Regions from separate parts of the Homo sapiens genome. Here region 1 is linked to region 2. The links are contacts of gene promoters, found by promoter capture Hi-C in human tissues and cell types (Jung and others, 2019). All regions are on one chromosome and are shown on one strand. The core of a region is centred on a gene start or on the middle of the fragment in contact, and the rest is flanking DNA. Distances in the headings are between cores, read along the strand shown. Region 1 holds the start of SERPINH1 (serpin family H member 1). Region 2 holds the start of KLHL35 (kelch like family member 35).

The links. The method cuts DNA at HindIII sites, captures the fragments that hold promoters and counts their contacts. A contact is called where the count stands out against the background at its distance.
Region 1: the fragment with the promoter of SERPINH1 here is called in contact with the fragment with the promoter of KLHL35 in region 2 in 2 of the 25 tissues and cell types used here (IMR-90 fibroblasts and small bowel).

What each region holds. Positions count from the first base shown.
Region 1 is chr11:75,558,132-75,563,502 of GRCh38, reverse strand. It overlaps SERPINH1 (serpin family H member 1), which reads right to left and starts at 1,250. Exons shown (of 5, transcript NM_001235.5): 1 at 1,184-1,250. RefSeq lists enhancers at 1-489, 490-1,030, 1,031-1,570, 4,152-4,693, silencers at 1,195-1,244, 1,255-1,514 and cis regulatory regions at 3,706-4,556, 5,029-5,259. The HindIII fragment of the contact is 16,066 bases long and covers 1-2,855 here.
Region 2 is chr11:75,429,899-75,435,578 of GRCh38, reverse strand. KLHL35 (kelch like family member 35) reads left to right here and starts at 2,376. Exons shown (of 7, transcript NM_001039548.3): 1 at 2,376-2,536; 2 at 4,949-5,680. The coding sequence starts at 4,950. GDPD5 (glycerophosphodiester phosphodiesterase domain containing 5) reads left to right here. Exons shown (of 17, transcript NM_030792.8): 17 at 1-939. The coding sequence ends at 72. RefSeq lists an enhancer at 2,852-3,738 and silencers at 5,027-5,266, 5,347-5,396. The HindIII fragment of the contact is 12,939 bases long and covers 1-5,680 here.

The DNA of each region.
Region 1 (5,371 bases), core at 1-2,500, 130 kb before region 2:
GCACAGAGCCCCTCCTGAGGGCTGCATGCGGTGTCCTGTTACACAGCCAGTACAAAAAAAAAATCTCTGCTGGGAGTCCCGGTGACAGAGGAGACAAAGGAGAGGACGGGAAGGGGGGATGGGTACATGAACCATCTGAAGACAGGAGGGTGTGGCCCCGGCCGGAATTCCGGAGAACCAAAGCCCCCTCATTTTCCTCAGGCCTCCATCCGGGCCGTACAGCCCAGAGGGACCAGCGGGAAACAAGGAAGAGGAGGGGCTGAGACTCTGGGCCAGTCTGGAAGTGCATTCATTCTCCTTCCTGCTCTTCAGCCACCTCAGGAATGTCTCTAAGCTGGGGGGCAGGGAACCCCAGCCTCTGGAAGTTAGACCCTGCAGTTTAAACCCTGCAGTTACTCCAAGAACCCTGTGGCAGTGGACAGAAGGAAAGACTCAAATCCTTCTAGTCAGCCCCTTAATCCCCAGAGCAGAGCAGACCCTGCTGACCCCCACTCTCTTTTTTCGGAGTGGTAGGGAGCCTCGCTGGCCAAGTCTTTCCTTTGGCTGCCATCATCTAGGCTGCAAGCTGCTGATCAGAAATTGAGCCACTGTCGCCCACTTCTACCAGAGCACACGGACCCCAGGAGTCGAGACGATTTCACCTCCTTTCCCACCACCGGAAGCTCAAATTCCCTCAGCAAGCCTGTGAGGAGGCTGGGCCACCAATCACCGCTGCCCCTGAGCCTCAACCCCAGAACGGAAGTGACCTGGAACTGCGAGGCCGGCCTATCCTCCCTACCCTTGCGGGAAGAGGCACCAGACCCATCTCCTTCCTCCTCTGTTTCTTTCCGCAGAGGCTCTGCTCTCTGCCCCCAGCCCCCTTTACACAGCACCTAGTCTCGTATCTGCCACCACCACCTTTTAGGGGTCCCTGCACTTTTTCCCAGTCCTCCGAGTGCACGGACTCCCAACCCGGCTCCGATCTCCGCCCTAGCCCTCAGCTGGCACCATCACTGGCTAGCCCTGGGCTCTCGATTCCAAACCCTCCAGCGGCCCCCAAAGTGCCGAGGACTCCAATTTGTAGGCTCTGGCTCGGCACCCAACGCTTCGCAGGGTCCCCTCGCCCCTCTTACTCCCTCGCGCACCCCCAGATTGCTCGGCGCTCCCCCGGGCCGCACGCACGCAGGCGTCTCCCGCCCCTCACCTGGGTCGGGCTGGGCTAGCGCCGGGACGTGACTCTCGCTCTCGAGCCGCGACACGATTCTACTCTTAGCCCGCTCCCCTGCTCCCGGGATCTATATATGGCAGTCCCCACCCCCTCCTGCCCGTCCCGAGAAACTTCTGGAAAGTTGGAAACGCTTCCGGAGGGCGCCCCAGCTCCGCCAAAAAAAGCCAAAGACCTCCCTCAAAACCTCCCCGGCCCCCGGCCCCTCCCTCTGCCGGCGCCTCCCGGCCCCTGGGTCCTACTGCCTCCCTCGGCGGCCCGGGCTGCGGGGCGCCGGGAGTCCCCACGGGGATCAGCGTGTCCTTCAGAGTGCGAGCTTCCTCCCACCCCCAGGCTCTCTGCATAAGCTAGCCCACTCCGAATCGCACGTCCTTTCAGGCGCCCCTTTCCCCGCAGGGGCTCTGCCCCAAGCAGAGCCATCTCCCCTTCTCCCCGCTCTCCCCCATTTTCAAGCTGAAACAATTGAGTCCTGTGCACCCCCTCCCTCTCAGGGGAGACGTTCAGGCTTCTGAAGGCAGTGCCCTTCTCCATACTTGTACATTCAAAAAACCTCAACCTCAGCGATGGCCAGAGGGAGAGGGAGCAGACCAGACCCGGTACCTGCCCGGCACCCGGAAAGTTCAAGTCGTGGAGTAATAGAGGCAGAGATGCCTGGGGAACTTCAGGTGGTCTGGCTGGGCTTGGAGGAGTGCACAGGAAGGAAAACCTGGCTCTCCACTGAGCAAGGTGCTGTGTGACCCTAAGCAGGTTACTTTCCCTTTCTGGGCCTCTGTTCCCTTGGCTGTGAAATGTGGTTCTAAGGCATCCCTTGCTTTTTTTCCCCCCTCTCTCCCTTCCTCAATCCTTGTCACCCCTGGCCCCCTCCCTATTGCATCCCCTCCCTCTTTGGGTCCCCTCCCACAGGCCTCAGGTCTCACTGTCAATTCCTACCCCACCCTCGCAAACTGATAGCTCCTTGACCTCCAAGTTAAGCTAGGGTATTCATTACTGTTCTAGGTGCTGAGGACACAGCTGAGAGCTGAACAAAGTCCTTGCCCTGTGCGATGTCCATCTGTGGGGTATGTACCTGTTAGTAGGGAATTCAGTGATTCAGTGAGGCAGATTATTTAGGAAACCCTAAATAATCTGGGCGACAGTGGCTCAATTTCTGATCAGCCGAGGCTCCCTACCCTCCGAAAAGTCCTCTTTAGTAGTTTAATGATAGCTATTGGATGGACGCAGTATGGAGAGGAAGGGACAGGGTAGGGACTCTTCATTCATTCAGTCATGAATGAATGCATTGAGTATCTTCTTTCTTCTAGGTGCTTGCCTGGATCCTGGGGAGCAAAAAAATCCCAGTACCCAGCAAATGAGTCAATCACCTGGGTCCCTGCCCTCTGTTAGTGGTTGTGGGGAAGCCTGGTGGTGGTGACAAACCTCTCTGTCTGGGTAGGCTTCTGCAGCTCAGAGTCTTTTGAGTACAAGGACTGTGGGAAATCTCAGATCCCAAAAGCTTCAGACTCTGTGATTCAGGGTCAAGGAATCAGAGATTACTTCCACTCAAAGCCCCCAAGGAGTCTTTGAATCCAGCTAAGGAATCTTAACATGTTAAAATCTCAGAGTCGAAGGATTCTGGAATAAATGTATTAAAGACTCTGAGCTGCAAGGCATCTCAGAGGTCAGGGGTTCCTGTCTGCAGCCCCAGGCAGAAGCCCTCTTCTCAGTATCCCAAAAAGGCAAGCACCGAGGCACCTCTAAGAAGAGAGAGCTTACCTCCTTCAGAGGCAGCCCCGCATTCTTTTTTAGGACAGGTCTGATTATTAACAAAAGCTTCCAGCCTTGGCATGGTGTCCATCTCTTTGGGGTGGCTGTCGTGGTTCTCATGTGCTTCCTCCTGCCTCAACTGTATATTGCTTTTAAAGATAAATTCTAGGCTGGGCGCGGTGGCTCATGCCTGTAATCCCAGCACTTTGGAAGGCCGAGGTGGGTGGATCACCTGAGGTCAGCAGTTCAAGATCAGCGTGGCCAAAATGGTGAAACCCCATCTCTAATAAAAATATGAAAATTAGCCAGCTGTGGTGTCATGTGCCTGTAATCCCAGCTACTCAGGAGGCTGAGGCGGGAGAATCTCTTGAACCTGGGAGGTGGAGTTTGCAGTGAGCCGAGATCATGCCACTGCACTCCAGCATGGGTGACAGAGCGAGACTCCATCTCAAAAAAAAAAGATAAATTCTTGTTTATCCAAGGAGACCTCCCGGGTCCCAGGCCAGACCCCACTCTCTACTCCCACCCCCACATTGGCCCTCAGGCTTCCTTGTGACTTGGTCAGTGAGCTGAGGGCAGGGCAGAGCAGAAACAAAGAGTGCCCATCAATGCTGGCAAAACAGAGAGGGTCGCCTGGGTTTTCAGCAGGTTCAGATGTCACAATCCCAGTGAGACTCCCTTCCTCTACTCTCTTACATCTCTTAGCTCTTTTAGGCTTCACCAACACCTGAGGGGGAGACTGAGAGTGCTGTGACTGTCCCATTTTGAGGGATAAACCAAAGCTCATGCTGTTAAATAGACCCAGTATCATGAGTGGTCACTGAAGAGAGGACCTGCCCTTACAGACAGCAAAGCTGAGGCCTAAGGAGGGCTGGGTCTGAAGGCCCAACCCCCATCCGACCCCCACTAATCTCACACCGGGTCAGAAGCCTCCTCTGTGACCTATCCCACTGCTGCATTATCTCTGTTATCACCCTGTATTGTCAGTGAACCATCACTGGAGACTTTGGAAGGGCAGGGCCTTTTCCTTGTCACTGTGAGTCCCCAGCTCCAGCAAGGGGACAGTATGGAAGAGGCACTGGGTAAGCATGGCTGGCCAGGGGATGAGAAGTGGCTGCCTGAGGCTGCTGTGCCCCTAGCACAGCCTCCCTGAAGAAGGGAAAGCAACGGCTCCTTTAAATTTCCAAGATCAGCAAAAAAAAAAAAAGTCAAGAGCCTTTGCCACAATATTCTTAGCTCTGAGCCCAGCCCAGACTGACTGTGGCCCTTCCCCCACATTCCAGGCAGAGCTTTCCGGAAAAAGCACTCTTTTAGGGGGTGGGGGAGAAGAGTCTGATAAGCAGAGAAACTCTCAAGCATTTTGTCTCTGGACTCCTCCAGTGCCTCGCTTCACTGAAGGAAGTGGTCCTGGTGCCTGGCACGTGGAGGCTGGCTGGAAATCCTCTAGATCCCTAGGTCCCGAGAGGTGTGGACAGCAGAAAGTAGAAAACCATCAAGTCCAACTGCATCCACACTATACAGAGAGGACAACGGAAGCCCAGAGAGGGCAGGAATTTACCCAAGGTCACACAGCATATCAGAGGTGGGGCTGGGCTGGAGCCTAAGCCCTGGACTCCCAGCCCTCTTTCTCCCACAGTACCCTCTAATGACCCAGGGGGGTATGTAGGCCCAGTTCTGCCAGGTGCTGTGGAAACAGCTTTCTTTGGCCCCAGTGGCTAGATTCACTCAGTCTTCACCCCATAGAATCCTAGGACAAAAACTTGCATGTCATTTAAGTGTGCAACACATTCACATTTATTATCATATTTATTCCTTTCAGGTAAGGAAGAATGTTCCAATTTTCAGCATGAAGAAACTGAGGATCAGGGAGACTAAGCAACAGGGTTAAGGGCACACAACAAGCCAGAGTCAGAGCTGGGTTTTGAATCAGGTCTGTTTATGCCATATCCACGGGAAGGCAGGGAGTGGACGAGAAGGAAGTGACATTTATGGGCCATTTTGCCGCTGCCAGGCCTGTGCTGGGCACCGTCATTAGTGTCTCACTTTTAATTATAGAACGTTAATCGGAAGGAAGTTTAATCCCCTTCTTTTTACATTGGTATAAAATTGGAGCCCAGAAAGCTCCGACAGCCAGTCCAGGGTCGGCCCCCTCCCTCAGGGAGCCAGGGCTGCTATAGGCAGCTCTTCTTTGAGATGCTGTCCAGGAGCCAAGAATGTGCTCTCAGCCCAAGGCATGAGTCAGGAAAACACGATTTCTGTAATCTTGGATTCTCTCTCTTGGAGCGTGGGGCCTTCCATCCAAAAAGGGCTGTCCTGCGTGCTGCCACGTTGGAGGGTGGGCAGCCGGTCCATGTGGGGGTGGGTGGGCACATGATTCCTCCCCTCCTCCTCCCAGAGCAGGCCCGCCCCTACCCGTCTGCAATC
Region 2 (5,680 bases), core at 1,127-3,626:
ACCGCCACCCCTGTGGGCCCCCGAGGGGGTGGCAGCCACACCAAGACCCTCATAGAGCGGAGTGGGCGTTAGCTGAAGACATGTCTGTCCCACCTGTACCTGACACAGAAGCTGGGGAGCCTAGGAGAGCTGGTGGAAGTGTGTCTGAACTCGGAGTGCTCTGGGAGCGGGCTCCACAGCCTCCTTGTGGGCTCCAGCCCCTTGTCAGCCGCAGCCTCTCTTGAGGGGGACTCCCTGTCTCCTGAGGCCCAGCTGGGCCAGGACTCCATCCTTTCAGATGCCCCTGCAGGCCTGGGGCTCCTTCTGGGAAGTATGGGGCCTAGGGCTTGGTCCCCCTCTTCTGAGGCCCTCTCCTGTATCCCGACCTGGAAGCTTTGATGGGTCATGGGCCATGCCATACCCCCTGTGGCAATGGAGTGTGTGGATGCTCACCTGTGCCATCTGTCCTCCTGTCTGTGCCAGGAGGCACCTGAGTTCTCTGCTGTTATCCTGCCCCAAGGGCCTGGGCCGAGCCTCTACCTGAAGCAACTCTGCTCTTCCTGTCAGTCTCAAAGCACAAGGAGGTTCAGCCCAGGAGGAAGCCAGCTGCAATGTGGAGACACGTCCTCCTCCCCAACCCACCTCATGCCACCGCCAACCCCCTGCCCCAGGAGCGGGCCTGAGCCACGTCCTCTAGGAGCAGCTGGAGATGGCCAAAAGAGTGAGCTCAGGACTACTGGATCCCATGCCCAGGTGTCCAGCAGACCTCAAGGCAGAAGGGTCACCTAACCCAGGAGTCCACAGACTGATGTGACCTCAGGTTCCCACATCAGTGGCCACAGGGCAGGGCCCACCTGGTAGAAGTGTTCTGGATATGGCCAGGGTGGGTGTGTGGCTAAGTGGGCCTGAACAGAGGGAACCTAGGGCCCTTGGCCAATGTGATTAAAGCTGCCATCTTGATGTGTGTTGTCTCTGAATTGCCAGCAGGAGGGTGGGGACAAGTGCGCTGGGTCTAGGTTTCAGTTCTGACCCTATAATCTGAGGAGGAACCATTCTCAGGAATGAATGGGAAAGTGGCAGAATGGTGCCTCCCCTTCCCTGGGTCCGCCATGGTGCCAGTGGCTGGGAGCCGGTATCCTCATATGGTGGATGGGGAGACAGTCTTGGAGAGGTAAAGTGACCTCCAAAAGCCACACAGCTTAGAACAGGCCAAGCCAGAATCCCATCCAGACTCTGGCCCCAGCGCATATGTGTGCCTCCCATAAGCTAGGAATGACACGCAGAGGGGGAGGGCTCCTGGGTCCAATGTAGGGCTGGGAGTGGGACTGGCAGGTGCCCTCACAGCCACATGAAGGCATTCTGAACCTCCCGGCTATGTTGGGACAAGCCCTCAGCACAGGGAGGCCTCTTCCCCATGCCAGGAGTTTGGCTTTGACTTCTCCGAGCTTTGGACCTGCCTGAGGAGGGCCCATGCCCATGCCCAGGACTGGGGGCACCTGAGCTGAAAGCCAAAGTACAGCCCTGGGACCACAGGTGTCCTTTCCTTCCAGTCCTTGGGACCTCTGCTGTCTGTGGGCAGGAGTCAGTGGTGGTGTCAGAGCAGGCCTGTAACTCCCCTCTTTGTCCTGAGAGTCTGCCTGGTCATGGGTGTGACCTGAGGGAAAAGGGGGAAGCTGAGCCCCAGCTCCAGCCTGCATCAAATTAACTCCATGCTTCCTGGGAGCCAAGGGACGTGTCTCTTCCAAACAGGGATCTTCTGGATAGAATTCTTGGGGTCTAGGAGATTCTGGCACCTTATAGGTAAAAAAGAAAAGAGCCCTCTGCAAATGTTGGAAGCTCCACTGGGCCCCCACAGTAACCTCGAGGACCGGCCCTCCTGCCCCTGCTACTGAATGTCTGGCAAGTGCTCTGCTTCCTGGGGCAGAGGTCAGCTCCCGCCTCTCCCTGAGCTCAAGGGAATGAGACTCAGAGCCACTGTGCCCCCCGCCCCACATGCTTAGTCACATTGGCATCTACATGGTCACACAGCCACATGTCCACACGCAGCCCAATGCTACACAGTCACTTCATTCCATGTACTTCCACAATCACGCATAGTCACCCTGAAACCTACATGCCTACAACTGCATGATGACACCCCTCCCACACCCCAACTCCAGCACCACACACCTTCGAACCCATCGTCATTCCGGGACAAGGCCAGCACCAGGTCACCCCCAAACCCAGGCATACCAAATCCTGGAGTTCCACACACAGTCAATCCCACTCTTATGCCCCCCCTTTCTTTCCCTCCCTCCCAGGGCTAGTCCAAGAGTGGAACAAAAGCCCAGCATCCCCCTCCCTGCTCGCTTCTCCCTTCCCCTCCCTTCCCCTCCCTCCTGGCGTCCAGCCCCTTTGTCCTCCCGCAGCTGAGCCCGAGCGAACAGCAAACGGGAGTCTGGGCAGAGCAGCATGAACACTGGAGCTTGGGCTGCCAGGGGTGCGGGCGGCAGGCACAAACGGGAGTGATACCTGTGAGAGCAGCAGCTGCGGAGCACTTGGGAGAGGGTATGGCCAGGTAAGTGCCAGGTGCATGGGGCAAGGCTTAGGCTGCAGGGCTGACCCGGCTGCGTGGTGTCCGCAAGTCTGAGATGGGGAGGATGCGGAGGAGGTGCTTGGGTAATGGCTTCAAGTGGATGTGGGTGTGTAAAAGAGTGATGGTGGCATGTTCGAGTCAGCTTCTATAGGCTGGGCCCTTCAATCTGCATCATGACCCCTGGCTTGAAGTGCCTAGACTCAGCCGAGAAGGGAGGATACCCATTGAGCCCTACCTGGGAATTTTTACCTTCTGTGTTCCAACTGGGTGTCGTTTGACCCCCAGACTGGGGATCCCCAGAGTGAATGCTGGATCTGATGTCACTGTGTGTCCAGAGTGCCCAGCGCAGTAGACAGTAAAATGAAAAAGTACTGACACACTTCCTAGGAGGGGACTCTTTCTCCCCCAGGGAGCTGCTTGTGCTGTGGGGCACCTTTGCAAGAAGTCCATCCTTATGCTGATGAGACCTGCCCTCTTGAGTCTCAACTCAGAGCATGGTTGTGCTTTCTGAGCCAGTGGAGGACAGACTGGTTGCAGCGTGCTGTGATGACCGGTCTCACTTCCTTCCACCGGTCCTGGCTGCTCCTTGGGACACACCCCCACCCTGGCAAGTGTGGCATGCAAACCCTGGAGCCAGGTGGATTCAGGATCCAGTCGCTCTACTTGGGCAAAAGTAGTTAACTTTCTTGCCCACCAGGGAGCTCATCTCTCATGATGCTGACCAGGGGATCCGCTGCCCTGGATGACCAGGGCATGAAAGCCAGGCTGACACTAGGCGGGATCTGACCTCCAGAGGCAGCAGAGCAGCTGGGAGCAGGAGGATGGAAGGAGAGGCAGGGCGCAGAGGGTGGACCTGAGCCCCCTAGAGTAAGCTGATGGAAAGGAGGGAGCTCCCTGTCCCTGGAGGTGTGCAAGCAGAGGTTTTGTGTTCATAATGGCCAAATCATAACCAGCATGGCCCAGCCCCTCAGTCTGCAGAGCGCCTTCACAAACACCCCTCTGCTGAGCCTCGCCGCAAACTTCTGAAGGGCGGGTGTCCTGTGTGTGCTTGTTTCCCTTATGACAAACTAAAGGGGCAGGTGTGGGCTAAAGAAACTTCTCAGCTTGTGAGGATGAAATTAAATTATGTCTATAAAAGCAACTGGCACACACAGTGTCCTCCCTTCCTCTTGAGTAAAAGCAATATAGGGAAACACCCATGTAGCTCGTACTGTGTACTAGCACTTTTCATACAGCCCATGTAATAGTCATGAAGCCACAGCCCTGTGAGGTAGGGATGATGATCCCATTTCAGATGAGATAACTGAGGCCAGGGCGGGCAGGTGAGAGGAGTGACTTGCCCCGGCCACACCGTAAGCCTGTGGCAGGCACTGGGTTAGAATCCCCATTTGTCCCTAGAGTTCTTTCCACTTTCTGACGGTGCTACCTGGAGAACACCAAGAGAACTCACTAGAGAGAGGGCCAGCTTCCCTCAGCCTGGGCTCTAACCTTTCAGAATTCGCCCATCCTTCTCAGCTGGAAGGTTCCCCTCAGGGACGCCCTCCCTGACTCCCCTCCACCTGGGTCCAGCGGCCCTTCTATGAACTCCCCTAACACCCGGTGCCTCCCCATGGCACCCCCGCCAGGCTGGGAGCTCCGGGCACACCGTAACTATGGTTGTCTTGCTCACTGCCTGGCACAGAAAGGGCTCCCAATAAATACTTGTCGAATTCGTTTGCGCGAAAGCTGTGTGTATGATGCTGTCTGTCAGGGGAGTGCTCAGGGTGTGGTCAGTGTCCAGCACCTACCGGAGATCGGCAGGAGACAGGCTGGATTGAGCAGAGGGCGGTGGAGTTATTGTACCCTCTCTCCCCTGCACATGCACACACTGGGTCTCTGTGGGGCAGCCTGAGTCCCTTGACCCAGGGCTTCAGCTCCTGTCACGGGACCCTCCTTACACAGATATATTTCCAGGTTCCAGTAACTTCCCTGCTCTCCCGCTACAGACCCCGGGGCGGCCAAGGCGCCCTGCTGTTAGTATCCTGGGACACAGCCCTACTCCTACTGGAGTCCCTAACGCCTACTCCGCTGTTGAAAATAGTTCCTTTATTAGACCCTCCTCCGATTACCCTGTTTGAGAGCGTGCCATCTGTTACCTGCAGATATCGATAGGAAAACGCTTAGCAAGTTTGAAGAACCGAAAAGGGCACTGTGTCTGAGTGGGTAGGCAGGGCAGAATGTCGCGCTGGTGAGGCGGGGCTGGGGCACTGTAGCCGTAAGGAACCTGGATGCTGAACGGAGGGGAGAGTCGCTGAACAAATGGTCAAGAGAGGAAATAAACGGATGAGGGCTGTCGCCTCTCCCGGGCGCAGCCAGGTGGCTTCCCCGACGCTGTTTGTGTTCTCTCCCCGGCAGGATGCGGCAAGGCCATGCGCCGGAGGAGTCGGAGCCGGGCTGCGAAGCGCCGTGCGCGGGTCCGTGCCACGCGCAGCGCGTGCTGCAGGCCCTGAACGCCTACCGGCGGAGCGGCACCCTCACCGACGTGGTGCTGCGCGCCGGCGGGCGCGACTTTCCGTGCCACCGCGCGGCGCTCAGCGCGGGCAGCGCCTACTTCCGCAGCTTGTTCGCGGCCGGGCGGCCCGAGCGCGGCCCGGCCGTGGTGCCAGTGGTGCCAGTAGCTCCCGAGGCGCCAGGCACGAGCCCGGCCGGGGCGGCGGCGGCGCTGGCCGTGGTGCTCGACTACGTGTACGGAGCGGGCGTGCGGCTGCGCGCGGAGGACGAGGCGGCGGCCGTGCTGGCGCTGGCGGAGCGGCTGGGCGTGGCGGGCCTGCGCGAGGCCTGCGTGCGCTTTCTCGAGGGCCGCCTGCGCGCCGCCAACAGCCTAGCGCTGCGCCGCGTGGCCGCCGCCTTCTCGCTGGCCCCGCTGGCCGAGCGCTGCGGCCGCGTCCTGCGTCAGGCCTTCGCCGAGGTGGCGCGCCACGCCGACTTCCTGGAGCTGGCGCCTGACGAGGTGGTGGCGCTGCTGGCGGACCCCGCGCTGGGCGTGGCGCGCGAGGAGGCCGTGTTTGAAGCGGCCATGCGCTGGGTGCGCCACGACGCGCCGGCCCGCCGCGGCCAGCTGCGACGCCTGCTGGAGCACGTGCGCCT